Regions from separate parts of the Homo sapiens genome. Here all the other regions are linked to region 1. Evidence: promoter capture Hi-C in 16 types of primary human blood cells and fetal thymus (Javierre and others, 2016). All regions are on one chromosome and are shown on one strand. Each heading gives the region's core, a stretch centred on a gene start or on the middle of the fragment in contact. The rest is flanking DNA. Distances are from core to core; before and after follow the strand shown. Region 1 holds the start of GCSAM (germinal center associated signaling and motility). Region 2 has its middle 2.4 kb from the start of CD200R1. Region 3 overlaps GTPBP8 (GTP binding protein 8). Region 4 overlaps RMP64 (ribonuclease MRP subunit p64).

Region 1 (3,639 bases), core at 540-3,039:
AACACAATCAAGATAAAGAACAACAACAAAAAATTTCCTCCTGTGCTTTGAAAGTCAACACCTCCCCCACCTTTTGCTCCTGGCAACACTAATATGTTTTCTGTTCCTGTGGTTTCACCTTATCTCTAATGTCACAGAAGGTAGGCTTTAAGTCTGGTCTCTTTCACTTAGTGTAATGCATTTGAGATTGATCCAAGTTATTGCATGTATTAATAGTCCACTCCTTTTCAATGATGGTCAGGATTCTGTTGTGTGGATGTAATATAACACAGAGCTTATTTAGCAATTCACTCAATGAAGATCAGTTGGGCTATTTCCAGGGTATTTCGGCTATTATGAGTAAAGCACATATAAAAATTTGTACACACAGTCTTAGAGGACATAAGTTTCACTTGGCTAAATGCCTAGGAGTGAAATTGCCAGGTTGTACAGTAACCCTATGTTCAATTTTATAAGAAATTGCCATACTTCTGAGATGGGAGAGTTCCCTTGACCCCTTCTCGGGACTTGCGACAGGGGTGTGGCCTACTTACTTGGCCACCACCATGCTCAAACTCTCTGTGGGAGCGGGAGCACGCAGGCAAGCGGGTGCCAGGGCTTCGATGAGCACTTTTGGGCTCCAGCCCAACAGCAGCATTTAGGGATGTGTTACAATTCATGCTCTTTTAGCAGTTGCCATCCGTGGACAGCTAAGTGTTAACCCACTCAATGGAGAGTCAGGGTGGCAGCCTTTTACACCCTGCCCTGTTGGTACCCAGGTTCTTGTTCAGCATCCAGGAAGAATCAGGTTGCATGAATGGTTTGAAAGTTGATGGATGTGGACGATTTTATTAAATGGTGGAAGTGGCTCTCAGTGGAAGGGGAGCTGCAAAGGGGATGGTGCAGGAAGAAAGTGACCTTTCCCTGAAGTCTGCTGTCTCTGGCCGGGCTCCTCCCTGAAGTCATGCCACCTGAAGTTAAGCCACATCTCTGACACTCAGTTGCTTCTTCTCCTCTTGATGTTCAGCCGCTTGTCTGTCTGCCAGCTGAGGTCTGGGGTTTATATGGGCACGGGATAGGGGGGCTGGACAGGCTAAAGAGTAACATTTGGGCAGGATAACAGGGATAACTGTTCTCATTTAGGGCTTCGGTTTCAAGGCTTGAGGGTGGGACCTTTGCCAGTGAACCACCCTCTTCTACCCAGTAAAGCCCTGCCTTCTGTCCTTATCACTTCTTTCCAAAAAGGCTGTCATTTTGCATTCTCATCAGCAATGCATGAGACTTCCAGTTGCTTTGCATACCTTGCCATACTTGATATTGTCAGGGTTTTATAGCCATTGTAATAAGTATGTAAAAGTGTTCCATTGTGGATTTGATTTACACTTCCCTAATAACTACAATGTTTAGCATCTTTTAATGTTCATCTGTATAGTTCCTTTGGTGAAATGTCTGTTCAAATATTTTGCCCATTTTGTTACTGGGTGTTTGTTTTCAGATTTGAGAGTTGTTGATACTATATTTTCTACAGGTCTGTGGCTTGACTGTTTTAACCTCCTTCTGACTTTTCTAAGAAGACAACGTGATTTATAAACGTAAATATCTGTAGTGGAAAAACTCCCATGGCCCATCTGTAATTTCAGACCTGGGATTCCCCAGAGGTTCGAAGCTCTCATTGACGGGTAGTTGCTGGTTATGGCCAACAGCCAGGTTGGTTCAGGCACTGACATGTTAGGACATTCTGCACATGCGTGCCTCTAACACTCCTCCCCCAGCCTCTTCCTTCCCTCTGCAGAGACACCCTTCTCCTTTCTGCTGTCTCTGCACGGGTGGCCAGAGCCACACAGCCCTTTCTTTAAGTCAGGAGTTGCCCTGTCAGAGCACAAGGCAAGAAGGAAGTGGTAAAGGGACGGAGGGGAAGCCCTGAGAGGACTGAGAGGATGGGAAATTCTCTGCTGAGAGAAAACAGGTAAGTCTAGACTCCCTGTGGGAGAGCAGAGGAGATGGGACAGGACAATACAGCAAGGAAGAGAAAAAGAAAGCTAGTATACAGTTAGCACACTAAGTTGGGGTAGAAAGTAGTTGGGTAAGGAAACTGCCAAGCCTTCAGTGCCTACTCTGTGCCAGATACCACATTAAATTTCCCATAGGTTTTGCCTTCTCCCAAGAATCATGGTGAGCAGCTGATGGAGAATAGCTGAAAGGTGGAAAGACTTTACCAAGGAAGGTCTATATAATAGGTTACCACCTAAGAAATGAAACAACTTTCTGAAAGCCCGGGAAGGAGATGCTCTCCTGAGCTCCTCATGCTCCACAAGGAGGTCAAAATCACCACCCTCTTTCAGCCACTATTTTAAGTTTGAAATAAACAGCAAGCTTCCTGCCACCTTGAGTCTTCCTTTGATGTGCACTCCCTGCAAGCAGGTAAGCAGAGGTCATCTAGATTAAATAGGCACAGAACTCAGATTTACTTTCTGGACCTCAGCCTCTTTATTTTAAGTAGAAATAATAATACAATATCTACCTTAGAGAGTTCTAGTGTGTATTGTGCTAGCATAGTGCCTGACATAAAGTAGGGTTCAAAATTAGAAGATATTTTCTGCTTTCTTTTTCTGACCATCATCTTCCTTAATATCAAAGCCGTGCCACCAAAATAGTGCCACCACAGACAAGGTAATCTCTAGGGTATAAAGTGGGGTGATCTAGAGAGAGTAAGCGAGCCAGAGGGGGTCTTCACAGGGTTATGTTTGGAATCCCTGGTCTCAGTTCATGCTACTGGAGAGTGGAACACAGGAAAAAATGGTAGCCCACTTTTGACCACTTGCCGAAAAGAGGATTGGTGGTCCTGTGGAATATCTCATGTCCCTTCCTAAGAATCATGTTGTCTGAGACTTCTCTACCCTGGGTTGTCACAGCCCCTTGTCAATCTTCTACTCTAGCATTGTTCTAACAATTATATAAATTACTATTTTTATTACTAGATATGAGATGCTCAAATGTAGTGATTGTTTCTTATTTATCTTTGAATTCCTGGTTCCTGGCATTGTTTCTGGCATATCACGTGCACTGAATAAGTGCAAAAAAACTTTAAAAAAATTTTTTTACTTTAAAATTTTGTTTTATGTAAGAAAAAAAACCTTTTTCCAAGGTGCACACATCTTATGCTATTTGGACTTCTTATGGTTTTTTATTTATTTTAAAGAAAATTCGATTTTAAATCTAGAAAGCTTTTTGGTTTCTGCCATTGCATTCATGCTTAAAATTCTTTGCTCTTCCTAAGATAAGACAAATCAACTCACATAAGTTTTGATTTTGTTATTTTACATTTGGCAACATATATTCAATATATGGTGTCAGATGTAAATTTTTTTCCAAATAGTTGATCAGTTTGCCCAACATCTTTATTTCTATGATGATTTAAAAGGTCTCCCTTGAACCAAGTGCAGTGGCATGCACCTGTAGTCCCAGCTACTCAGGAGGCTGAGGCAGGAGGATTGCTTGAGCCCAGGAGTTTGAGGGCAGCCTGAACAACATAGCAAGACCCAGTCTTAAAAATAAATTCATTAAAATAATTAAATAAAATGTTTCCGTTAACGTATTCAAAAGTCTTGTATATATTGGTATCTAATTTTCATTGTCACCCCAACACCCAGTTATCATCTA
Region 2 (3,300 bases), core at 221-2,720, 840 kb before region 1:
ACATAACCTCTCTGCTTTGAGTTTCCTCAATGGTAAGTGGTATTTACTATATAGGATTGTTGAGATAATTAAATTAGGTAATATTTATAAACTGCTTAGAACAAGATCAGGGTGTTAAGCTTAGGGCTTGACAAATACTTGCTATGGATCTGACCAGTGAGATTTACAGTTGATATTTAGCTAAATATAAAATGTGATTACTAATTTCTCTACTCTGATTTTGCTTATTTTGATACTGCACACATTTGATTTTCAAACATCTATTTCTCAATTTTCCTTTTTGTATAATCTGTAAAATTATAATAAAAAATAATCATTAATTCCAATATGATATATTTTTTCTAACTTTTTAAGAAGACTTTTTATACATTGACGTAGATCAACCATATATTAGGAGTAAAAATTTTCAAGAAAAATCAATATAATAGTAGGTATAAAAATAGAAGTATGCATTTTTTGAGGCTCTTTTAAGTTACTGTTTAGTCTATTTAATGATTGTCCATGGAGGAAGATACAGGATTTCAGATGAGTCTTGAGAGCATGGGTCAATGAAGGTTACAGAGAGGTAAATTGGAAAATAGAAAATGGAATATGCCCAGGAAAGCAGTCTTTTTATGCAACTGTATGTTGAATTATAGCATTTCTGTGGTAATTCATTAGATTCAGATCTGTAGTTATTGTACAAGGGAGCAGAGAGGAAGTAAAGACAAGAGTGGAGTGCTGTAGAGTTTGAGTCCCTTGAAATTCTTTAGACTATTCGGTATTGTTCTTTTTACCTCTGTGAAATTGGCATGTTACCACTTGGCTAGCAGTAGGACAGAGTAGATTGAGGGAATTAGGACTAAGTGTTTCGCTAGCATATTTGTGTGAGCGTGTGTGTGTGTGTTATGTTTGTGTGTGCACACATGCAAGTGTATAGAAGGGTAAGTCAGGCCAGATATCTAAGCCAGAGAGTTCACCAAAAGTAACAGTGACAAGGCAAGTAGTTATTGGCCCATTTTGCAAGAATGCACATCCAGAAAATTCAGCTATGGTAGGAAGGGCAGGCAGGTGCTGAAGTTCTCGGCAGTCAAGACTCAAATATAAGAGGTGAATGAGTCGGCAATGGTACTGGGGAGCAAAGGGTCCCGGGAACGAGAAGTCAGGAATAAAAGTCCATAGAATCTTTGCAGTAAGTATTCAAGAGCCATGCAAATCTTCTACATAATGGGGAGGAATCCCAAGAGGAAGGCTGCAACACTTCATCTTAAATGGTTTCAGTGTGGCTAAGTCTGAATCTGACATTGGAGAGAAAGATATACACCTGATTGGAAGAAGTTTACTTCAACAACATTTATAGTTATTACATCAATTTTCAGTTTATTGCAATTGATAAATTGAGTAAACCAGCCATGCTGGTTTGGGGGCATTATGGCCTAAAGTAGTTCTAATTTACTAAAGTTTCTCTGTCTTTTTGTTTTGGCTACAACATTAACTGGCATTACATTGTCCTGTTTGTTTCTCTTATGCTATGATTCTTAACTGGTATTATTGAAGGAGAATTGGAAAACTGGTAGAGTAAAAGGTTTGGGTTTCTGGTTTGAATGACACCTGTTTCTTGATCCTTTTTCACTCTTTTGCTTTGCTTCCTGGGTCCTGTGCCCAAGGGCCGCAACCAGGGAGAATTTGGGGCCTTTAGATTTTTTAGAGAGGTGTATTTACCAGACACATCTTTCTCTTATTATACTGACTTTCATGGCATGTCTTTAGTGGATGATTATGTTAACAAACTTTTAGTCCCTTTATTGTTTTAAACATTCATGGTCCATAAAAGGTAGAAGGTGGGAGTTGAGAGGTTACAGGCATGTGATTTGGGGGTGGAGAGGATGAGGGACCAGGGAGAGAAACTGTCATCCTGCCAAATCTATTTAGTGAATTTTATGGTTTTTGATACCCATCACTTGATTCTTAAACTGCTGATTGCAGATTGTGGTCTGACCTCAGGTGAGTGCATTGGAGTGTGTCTATGAAAGTTGTTGCCTGAAATTTCAAAGTAGAGGAGTTGAGTGAAAAGAACACAGGGCTACGAAATATAACACATTTTATTCCCAGCCGTGCCAATAAGTTGTTTTGAGGCCACAGGCCATTTAGCCCTTCTGTGGTTTAGTTTTGGCTATGTCATTGAGCAGATATTAAAATAAATGATCTCCAAGAATTTTTGATGACATGAGAAAAAGCTAATGTCAATATAATATAAACAGATACAGACTTGAGTAAGAAACTTTCCCAGTATCACTGGACTAGTAATTGCACAACAGAGACTTAACCCTATGTCTATCTGTATCCTAAGCGAGTGTGAATTTTAACTTTAACTTCTCTCTGCTCACTGCAACCTCTGCCTCCTGGGTTCAAGCGATTCTCATGCCTCAGCCTCCCAAGTAGCTGGGACTACAGATGAGTGCCATCACACCTGGCTAATTTTTTTTTTTTTTTTTAAGTAGAGATGGAGTTTGGAGTTTTGTCATGTTGCCCAGGCTGGTCTCGAACTCCTGAGCTCAGGCAATCTGCCCGCCTCGGCCTCCCAGTGTCCTAAGATTACAGACATGAGCCACTACTCCCGGCCAACTTTCACTTCTATGTAGTGGAAAACCAGAATATTATCTGTATTTTAAATGATGTATTCTCACTAATTTTCCGACACCTGGTGAAACATTAGACAGAAGAGAAGACATTTTTGTTTTGGTCTTCCCATTGTCACAGCTCATACCCTTAAGTGTTCCATGCCCTCAAGGATCTGGTTTCACTGTCTTCATCAAATTAATTAACTGGAAAAAAAAGCTTGAGAAGGGGAAGGGGGGAAATATTTATAATGTTTGGCAAGAAGGAAGATGAAACTGCTAACTGAGAAAAAAAATGCATGCTGTTTAATCTTTTTCCTGTTTGCAATGTTTTCTTCCCCTTCCTGTACAGTTTTGCCTTGGGGCAGAAAATTCTCAGCACATAGAAGATTTTTCCCTCTCTCAGACATAACTTAAAAGCATAGTAACATAGTAACTAGCAACAGTAAGGAAGAGGTTTTTTTGTTGTTGTTGTTGTTTTTTTTTTTTGGTTAGGGGGAGTCTGAATTCCAGATGTGTGGCAACTAAGAGATGGGTGATTATTTGTAATTTGGTTAAAATGATCAGTCTAATTTTCCAAAGGTGAAACTGAATGGCAATAAGTACTGAGTTCTGATAAACAGAATGCCCTCACCCCCAACAAGGTAGATACCTATGTCCGAATTACCGAAACCTGTGAATGTTACCTTGTGTGGCAAAAAGG
Region 3 (3,171 bases), core at 421-2,920, 860 kb before region 1:
GCTGCTTAATGGTGCTTTAACCACATAGGGCCACAATATCTTGGAAAGATCAATGAGAAGGGTCCTGGAGTTATATTTGCAATTGTTCATATGATCACAATATACCTGATAGCTTAAGATATATAAATGAATATTGGGTTTATCTATACAAAATTGCCAATTTGTAATCATTTTTTGACCTATACTCTAAAGAAAAAAATCAGAAATCAGGCTATTTGTAGGTTCTATCTACTAGTTATATTCCAAGTAAGTCCAGAATTCTACTTGTCCAGAGACAAGTAACATAGTGCAGAAAGGTCAAAGTATGGGTGATTATTACAAAAATCAATTAAAAATAAAACCTTAATCCACCAGATATTCCTGGTGAGTTTCTGTAAAATTAAATTTCCTGGCAAATCATGCTTTTTAGTCATAAAAGATGCTAATGGCAGGAGTGTGGTGTCATGATACATATATTGGTTTATGTCCATGGTTCCTTTCTCATAACTCCCATAGCCCTTGTTACGATCATTTGTTATAATGTTGGATATGTTAGGCATCAGGAAACAAAATCTCTCTGACCTCCTGCCTTCCATTCACCTGCTCCAAGACAAGACTTGTAATCTTCTCTCACCTTTCTGATTGTGGTCATATGACCCTCATTCCAGAGAGGGTCCCACCTCATACCCTGGGGGAAGGGATGCTGATGTTATGAAGCTTCCATAAAAGCCCAGGAAGACTGGGTTTGGAGAGCTTCCAAATAGCTGAACACAGGTAGGTTTCCAAAGGGTGGCATGCCCAAGGAGGACATGGAGGTTCTGTGCATCTTCATTATATCCTTTGTAATATACTTTATAATACCATCAGAAAACATGTTTCCCTGAGTTCTGTGAGCCACTCCAGCAATTAAACCCAAAGAGGGGGTAGTTGGAACCCCAACTTGAAGCCAGTCTAGATATTCTAGAGGCCCAAAATTGTGACTAGTGTCTGAAGCCGGGTGGGAGGAGTCGTCTTGGGGACTGAATCCTCAATCTGTGGGATTGTGTCCACTGGTTGTTGGTGAAGACAAAAACCCCTACACATTTAGCCACAGAAGTCTTCTGTGTTAATTGTTGTGGTATGAGAGCAGAGGAAAAACATGGTTCCAGTGTTTTTCCCACAGTGAGAAGCAGAAAGTGTGTGGTTTCTAATGACTTGTGAACCCCTCCGCAAATGGGAGTCTTTCCTCATAAAGGCAAATGTTCTGATATTTAAAAGGAGATACAGATATAACTTTTCTATTCCAATTCCTTTTCCAACGAAGAAAGTAATATTTCCTTTCAGTTAAAATTGAGGAAAATATATGATTTCATAAACTAGTATCTGCGATACCAAATAAAGAATACTATTATTTAGTTTGGCAATATTTAGGCATTTTTACTAGGCAGACTATCAATCCTTTGACTTCTCATAACTATAAATCATCTCTAATGCTTCATAGGGCTTTTGCAGACCCCAAGAATTCCAAGACCCCAAGAATAAAACAAAAGTGGCTGACTAGTAATTTGGTGTGATTTGTACTAAACTCCACTGTTACATATTAGTGGCTGACATCTTTTTGAAAGCAAATTAGTTATTGGGTTCTTCACTTTTCTTTGGAAAGAAACTTTAAGAGTGCCATTTTTTCTGGAAGTCTCACAAAGCAAAATTAATGTGGATACCAATCTACAATTCTGGTATTCTAGTCTAGGTCAAAAGACCAAGAATACTGGTAAGAAATTCCCAGAAGAAATTTTGTTTGCTTTAAAAATATAAAAATCCTACTTGTGTGTGCTGGAGGCTGCTATGTTCCTGGAACAATTTTAAAGTTTTAAATTAGTTAAGCAACTTTTTAAGTTGCAGTTTTATTCACATTCTTATAAGTACTATCTGCCACGCTGCTGTTAAAGAGCTACTAACTTTTTCTGAACAAATGTTTATGTTGCCATAAAAAGAAAAAAATATGAACAGTATCTAGGAACATTAAATGAACAGCCTAAAGAAACCTTTACTTTGACTATAATTTTCAAAACATAGCTGAGTGACAGAAAAGAGAATAAAAGTGCCATAGAACTTCTTTTAATATTAATGGATGATTAATTGAAAAGATTATTCAAAAGGCACTCTCCTTTATCTTTTGAGGCAACACAAGCTCAATTGTTAAAAGGTGCATGTTCACACAGATGCACGTAGAACTGATATTTCTAATTGCAACCATGATTCAAAGGAAGTACTTACCACATAAGGTAATGCAAATTCTTCACACATTTCTATGGCAATATTGTCTGTTTTTTGAATTCCAACAACGCTATCCACTAATAAAAATGTTCTCTTCAAGCTATAAGCATGTAGAAAAGAAGATTAATGGCAATATAAAATATACCCATTCATTTATCCCCTCTTCCTTACTGTACTAAGAAATTCTTCTTTGAATAATTCTCATTCCAAAATTAAAACATTTCTTTAGGCAACAGGAATTCTCAATTTGCCAGAAGTTTATCCTGCAGTCCAGTAGGTCTCAATGCTATTTACTTTCAATAACTAAATTCACTAAATATTAATTTAAATCAATAAGGATATATTGGATATAAGACATTCTGCCTGGGACTTGATATATAATGAGTGAGTTCCCTCCTCTAAAAGCTTAAACTCGAGGAGGAGAAAGAGATACAAATCAAATTAACCATAAATTACAGATTATAAATTATAGGAACCATAAATTATAAAAAATTAACCATAAGTTATAAATTTTTTTTTTTGTTTTTTTAGACAGAGCCTCATTCTGTTGCCCAGGGTAGAATGCAGTGGCACAATCTTGGCTCACTAACCTCTGCCTCCTGGGTTTGAGTGATTGTCCTGCCTCAGTCTCCTGAGGAGTTGGGATTACAGGCATGTGCCACCATGCCTGGCTGATTTTTTTTTTTTTGTATTTTTAGTAGAGTTGAGGTTTTGCCATGTTGCCAGGCTGGTCTCGAACTCCTGACCTCAAGTGATCCGCCGACCTCGGCCTCCCAAAGTGCTGAGATTACAGGCGTGAGCCGGCGTGCCTGGTCTATATGGGAATTTTTAAATATTACCCTAACACTAACAGATAACAGAAACCAGACACATTATATCTTGCATTTTATGTAAATATTTGATTTTACCCCTTATGTAAAGCTACAACAAACAAGA
Region 4 (3,185 bases), core at 53-2,552, 880 kb before region 1:
CAAATGGAGATAAAAGCACCTTCCTCATAGGGCTGTTTGGGGGGATGAAAGAGTTGATAATGTAGAGAAAGCATTTGGAACACTGCCTGGCATGGTAAATGAACACTCAAATGGAAGCTGTTATGAATATTAAATACGTAGCTCCGGGGCCCAAGGGAGAGAATACAGTCATGGGTTCTTTGTTTCCGGTTGGGCTGGTAAAGCCCTTTCCTCATCCCTCTTTTCACTAGAGACAAACTAAAAACCATGGCTTTAAGCTGCAAAAAGCCTAAAACAAAACAGAACAGAACAACAAAATAAGGCGGGTTGGACAAGCTTGACTTAGATCATCACATCCCCTTTCCCATATATCCATCCTACACACTTTACAGATTATCCCATCTATCCTTCCTACACACTTTACAGATTAATCTTCCCTCTTTCTCTATTCAAAAATTCTTTAACAACTCCTATTAGGCCTGGGAAATTCACCAACTCACTACCCATCCCCGAGGCAGCCCATTCTGTCTTCAGGTAGTTGTTGGGACAGTAAGAAAATTCTTGTTAGGTAGCAACCAGCCTTTACTTCCATTTAGAATGCTAGTGCTGCCTTTAGAGCCATAAATAACACATGAACTACATCTTAGGGACTTCTACAGATTTTCAGACTAGGAAGCATCTGCTGATGAGCACCCGGTGTTCATCAAATAATACGATTTCCAGTTACTGTGGTGGTTTTTCTTTTCTGAATATGTTTGTGTCTCTCATAAAGTGATATCCAAACACAGAAGCCTTGATTTTGAAGACTGTGAATTTATTCATTCTGTCTTGCTTTCGGGCATAGCGACATGGGGAGTTAGAGAGTTATTACACATGTTGTGACATGTGCCCTACCTTCAAGGTGGGGGTTAAGTGTACACATGAGGCGTAAGTGTACACCAAATGACTGACAGCAAAGTATTCATATGAAAGATTATTAAACCATGATAAAATGCAATGCAAAGATACAGCTTCTTGTTTTACAGATGTTCTCTTAATGATTTCCTGGACTTTATATCATCTGTTACCATTTTCCAACTTCTCTTATACTTAGAATCCTTACGTTCTTACAGTTGAGACTGATTACATTAGTTTTTGATTCCTTTAAAACAAATAAGGAAAGATGCTTTTTTTAGTGTGTTTTTAATATAATATACTTACTGTAGAAATACATACTAAATCTTATTAGATGTCTCTGCTTCAGACCTTTGCATTGCAGCTGTAATTAAAGAATGCCATCTCGTCATACTGTCGCTGAAGAGCCAAACCTTAGATGCAGAAACAGATGTGTTATGTGCAGTCCTTTACAGCAATCACAACAGAATGGGCCGCCACAAACCCCATTTGGCCCTCAAACAGGTGAGGAAGCCCGGTAGGTGAGACCCAACCTGTTCACTTGAAAATGTAGATCACACTGCCACTTACTATATTGCTATTTATGGAAATCTCGTGGAAATCTCAGTAAATTACTTGTGTTTTATAGGCCTATAGCCCACAGTTACATGTGCACTTTCTTTTTTTTTCCTAAAAGCATTTCAGCATTTCAAAAAGTAATTTTTGTTAGAAAAGAAGTATGTTTAGATTCTTTCCCAGTCTTGTTTCTAATAGGCAAGTAAACATTTTCTTCATTATATACAATCTATAACAACAGTGCCTTTGCCCAGCTCAAAGATAAAGTGATTTGAGCAAGACAAAATGTTGGACATTAAGAAACAGTTCCCTGGGCATAATCAGAATGCTAAAATTATTTTTAAAAAAACTTGTCTACTTATTATGGGGTACATAATCTAATTGGTGGTATGTTAGAGTAAATGGGTACATAGCAAGTTGTGGTGTAAACTGGTTTCATGTAATGTTTGGAGCTTAAGACAAAATTGGGCCCTCCAGCTCAGGGGCTATACCATAGAGTAGAGCCTCTCTTAAGCTGGCTTCCTGATATGCTCATTCATTCATTCACTTAATTCTGCAAGTATTTTCTGGAAGTTCAGAAGGCTATCCATTGTGTGACAGGGCTACCTTGCAAGTGTTTTTGAACTTTCTGTGTGCCAGGCATTCTGCTTAGTGCTGTGTATAGAGGAGTGAAAAAGGTAGACACAGTCTCTAACCTTATAGATGCATGCTTTCTGGTTAGTTTTCTACCCCTAGTACTTAAAGCAAACAGGGTGAAGATTTCATCAAAGAAAGATCTGGGACCATGGTCTTTCCCTAAATTTTCCATTCTAGGGTGGCTTTTATCTTTTTCGGAGTCTTTTTGATCCAAAAGCAAGCTTGCTAACCCTCAAAGTGAATATATTTCTCCTTCTAGCTTCTGGGTTGTGAATAATCACCCCGTCATCAAAATTTGGCATTCTCTAGTCTCTCTCTCTTACGTAGCTCTCCCATCCAGGCAGTCCATAAGACAAAACTTCCTCTGCATCTGGTCCCCTCTTCAGTTCTGGCTGCCATTTTCCTTTCTTAGACCTTGTCAACTTTTAGTTGTCTTACTATCATAACTGATGTTTCCTCCTTCAGCTTTTCCTAAGTTCTGGCATATTCTAAATATTAAAACCAGGTTAATCATCTGAAAACACAACTTTGATTTTTAGTCGTTCTCCATTGTGTCCTGAGTAAAGACCAAACTTCTTAGTTTGGCTTACGAGATCTGTGATCTGGCCTCTTCAGTCTTCTTAGTTCGGGCTTCTCTCTTGCGTTCAGATAGATTATATTCCAGCCAACCTGGACTCAACACACCTGCATGCTCACTATGTTTGTTCCTGCTTCTGAGTCTGCTTACCTGGTCCTGTATGTTTAGAATGCCCAGCCTCACCATGTCTGCCTGTTAAAGGCCTTCCTATCCTCTAAGTCCCATTTTAAGCCTTTCTGGCAGTGATAATCTGTGTTATAGTAATCTCATTTTAAGTTGTATTTTTCTGATTATTACTGAAGTTGCTTTTTTTTTTTTTTTTTTAAATTCTTGGCTATTTGGGCCTCCTCTTTGTACTTATAGCATTTAATATAGTCTGTGTCATGGTAAAGTTATTTGTGTATATATTTTATATTCCATGTGATCCCTGAAGTAGGAAACATGTTTTATGCTTATGTTACTGCTGCAGCTGCTATTACCACTTCTACTACTGCCTTACAACTGCTTAATATTTCACAGTTTTCAGAGAACTTTCATGTAAGTA

The links. The method cuts DNA at HindIII sites, captures the fragments that hold promoters and counts their contacts. A CHiCAGO score of 5 or more calls a contact.
Region 2: a fragment that was not itself captured here is called in contact with the fragment with the promoter of GCSAM in region 1 in 1 of 17 cell types (non-activated CD4 T cells); the score reaches 5.9 in non-activated CD4 T cells.
Region 3: a fragment that was not itself captured here is called in contact with the fragment with the promoter of GCSAM in region 1 in 1 of 17 cell types (total B cells); the score reaches 5.4 in total B cells.
Region 4: a fragment that was not itself captured here is called in contact with the fragment with the promoter of GCSAM in region 1 in 1 of 17 cell types (fetal thymus); the score reaches 5.9 in fetal thymus.

What each region holds. Positions count from the first base shown.
Region 1 is chr3:112,131,398-112,135,036 of GRCh38, reverse strand. It overlaps GCSAM (germinal center associated signaling and motility), which reads left to right and starts at 1,789. Exons shown (of 6, transcript NM_152785.5): 1 at 1,789-1,945. The coding sequence starts at 1,917. TBILA (TGF-beta induced lncRNA) reads right to left here and starts at 1,614. Exons shown (of 1, transcript NR_157393.1): 1 at 1-1,614. It also overlaps a transcript of C3orf52 not described here. RefSeq lists enhancers at 1,464-1,643, 2,124-2,183. The HindIII fragment of the contact is 3,922 bases long and covers 1-2,354 here.
Region 2 is chr3:112,975,834-112,979,133 of GRCh38, reverse strand. No RefSeq gene overlaps it. Among named protein-coding and RNA genes, the nearest start is that of CD200R1, 2.4 kb to the right of the region's middle. The HindIII fragment of the contact is 2,698 bases long and covers 122-2,819 here.
Region 3 is chr3:112,996,056-112,999,226 of GRCh38, reverse strand. GTPBP8 (GTP binding protein 8) reads right to left here. Exons shown (of 6, transcript NM_014170.4): 4 at 2,236-2,335. Among named protein-coding and RNA genes, the nearest start is that of GTPBP8, 6.7 kb to the right of the region's middle. The HindIII fragment of the contact is 1,944 bases long and covers 699-2,642 here.
Region 4 is chr3:113,015,640-113,018,824 of GRCh38, reverse strand. RMP64 (ribonuclease MRP subunit p64) reads left to right here. Exons shown (of 9, transcript NM_015412.4): 2 at 1,223-1,377. Among named protein-coding and RNA genes, the nearest start is that of NEPRO-AS1, 2.3 kb to the left of the region's middle. The HindIII fragment of the contact is 1,970 bases long and covers 318-2,287 here.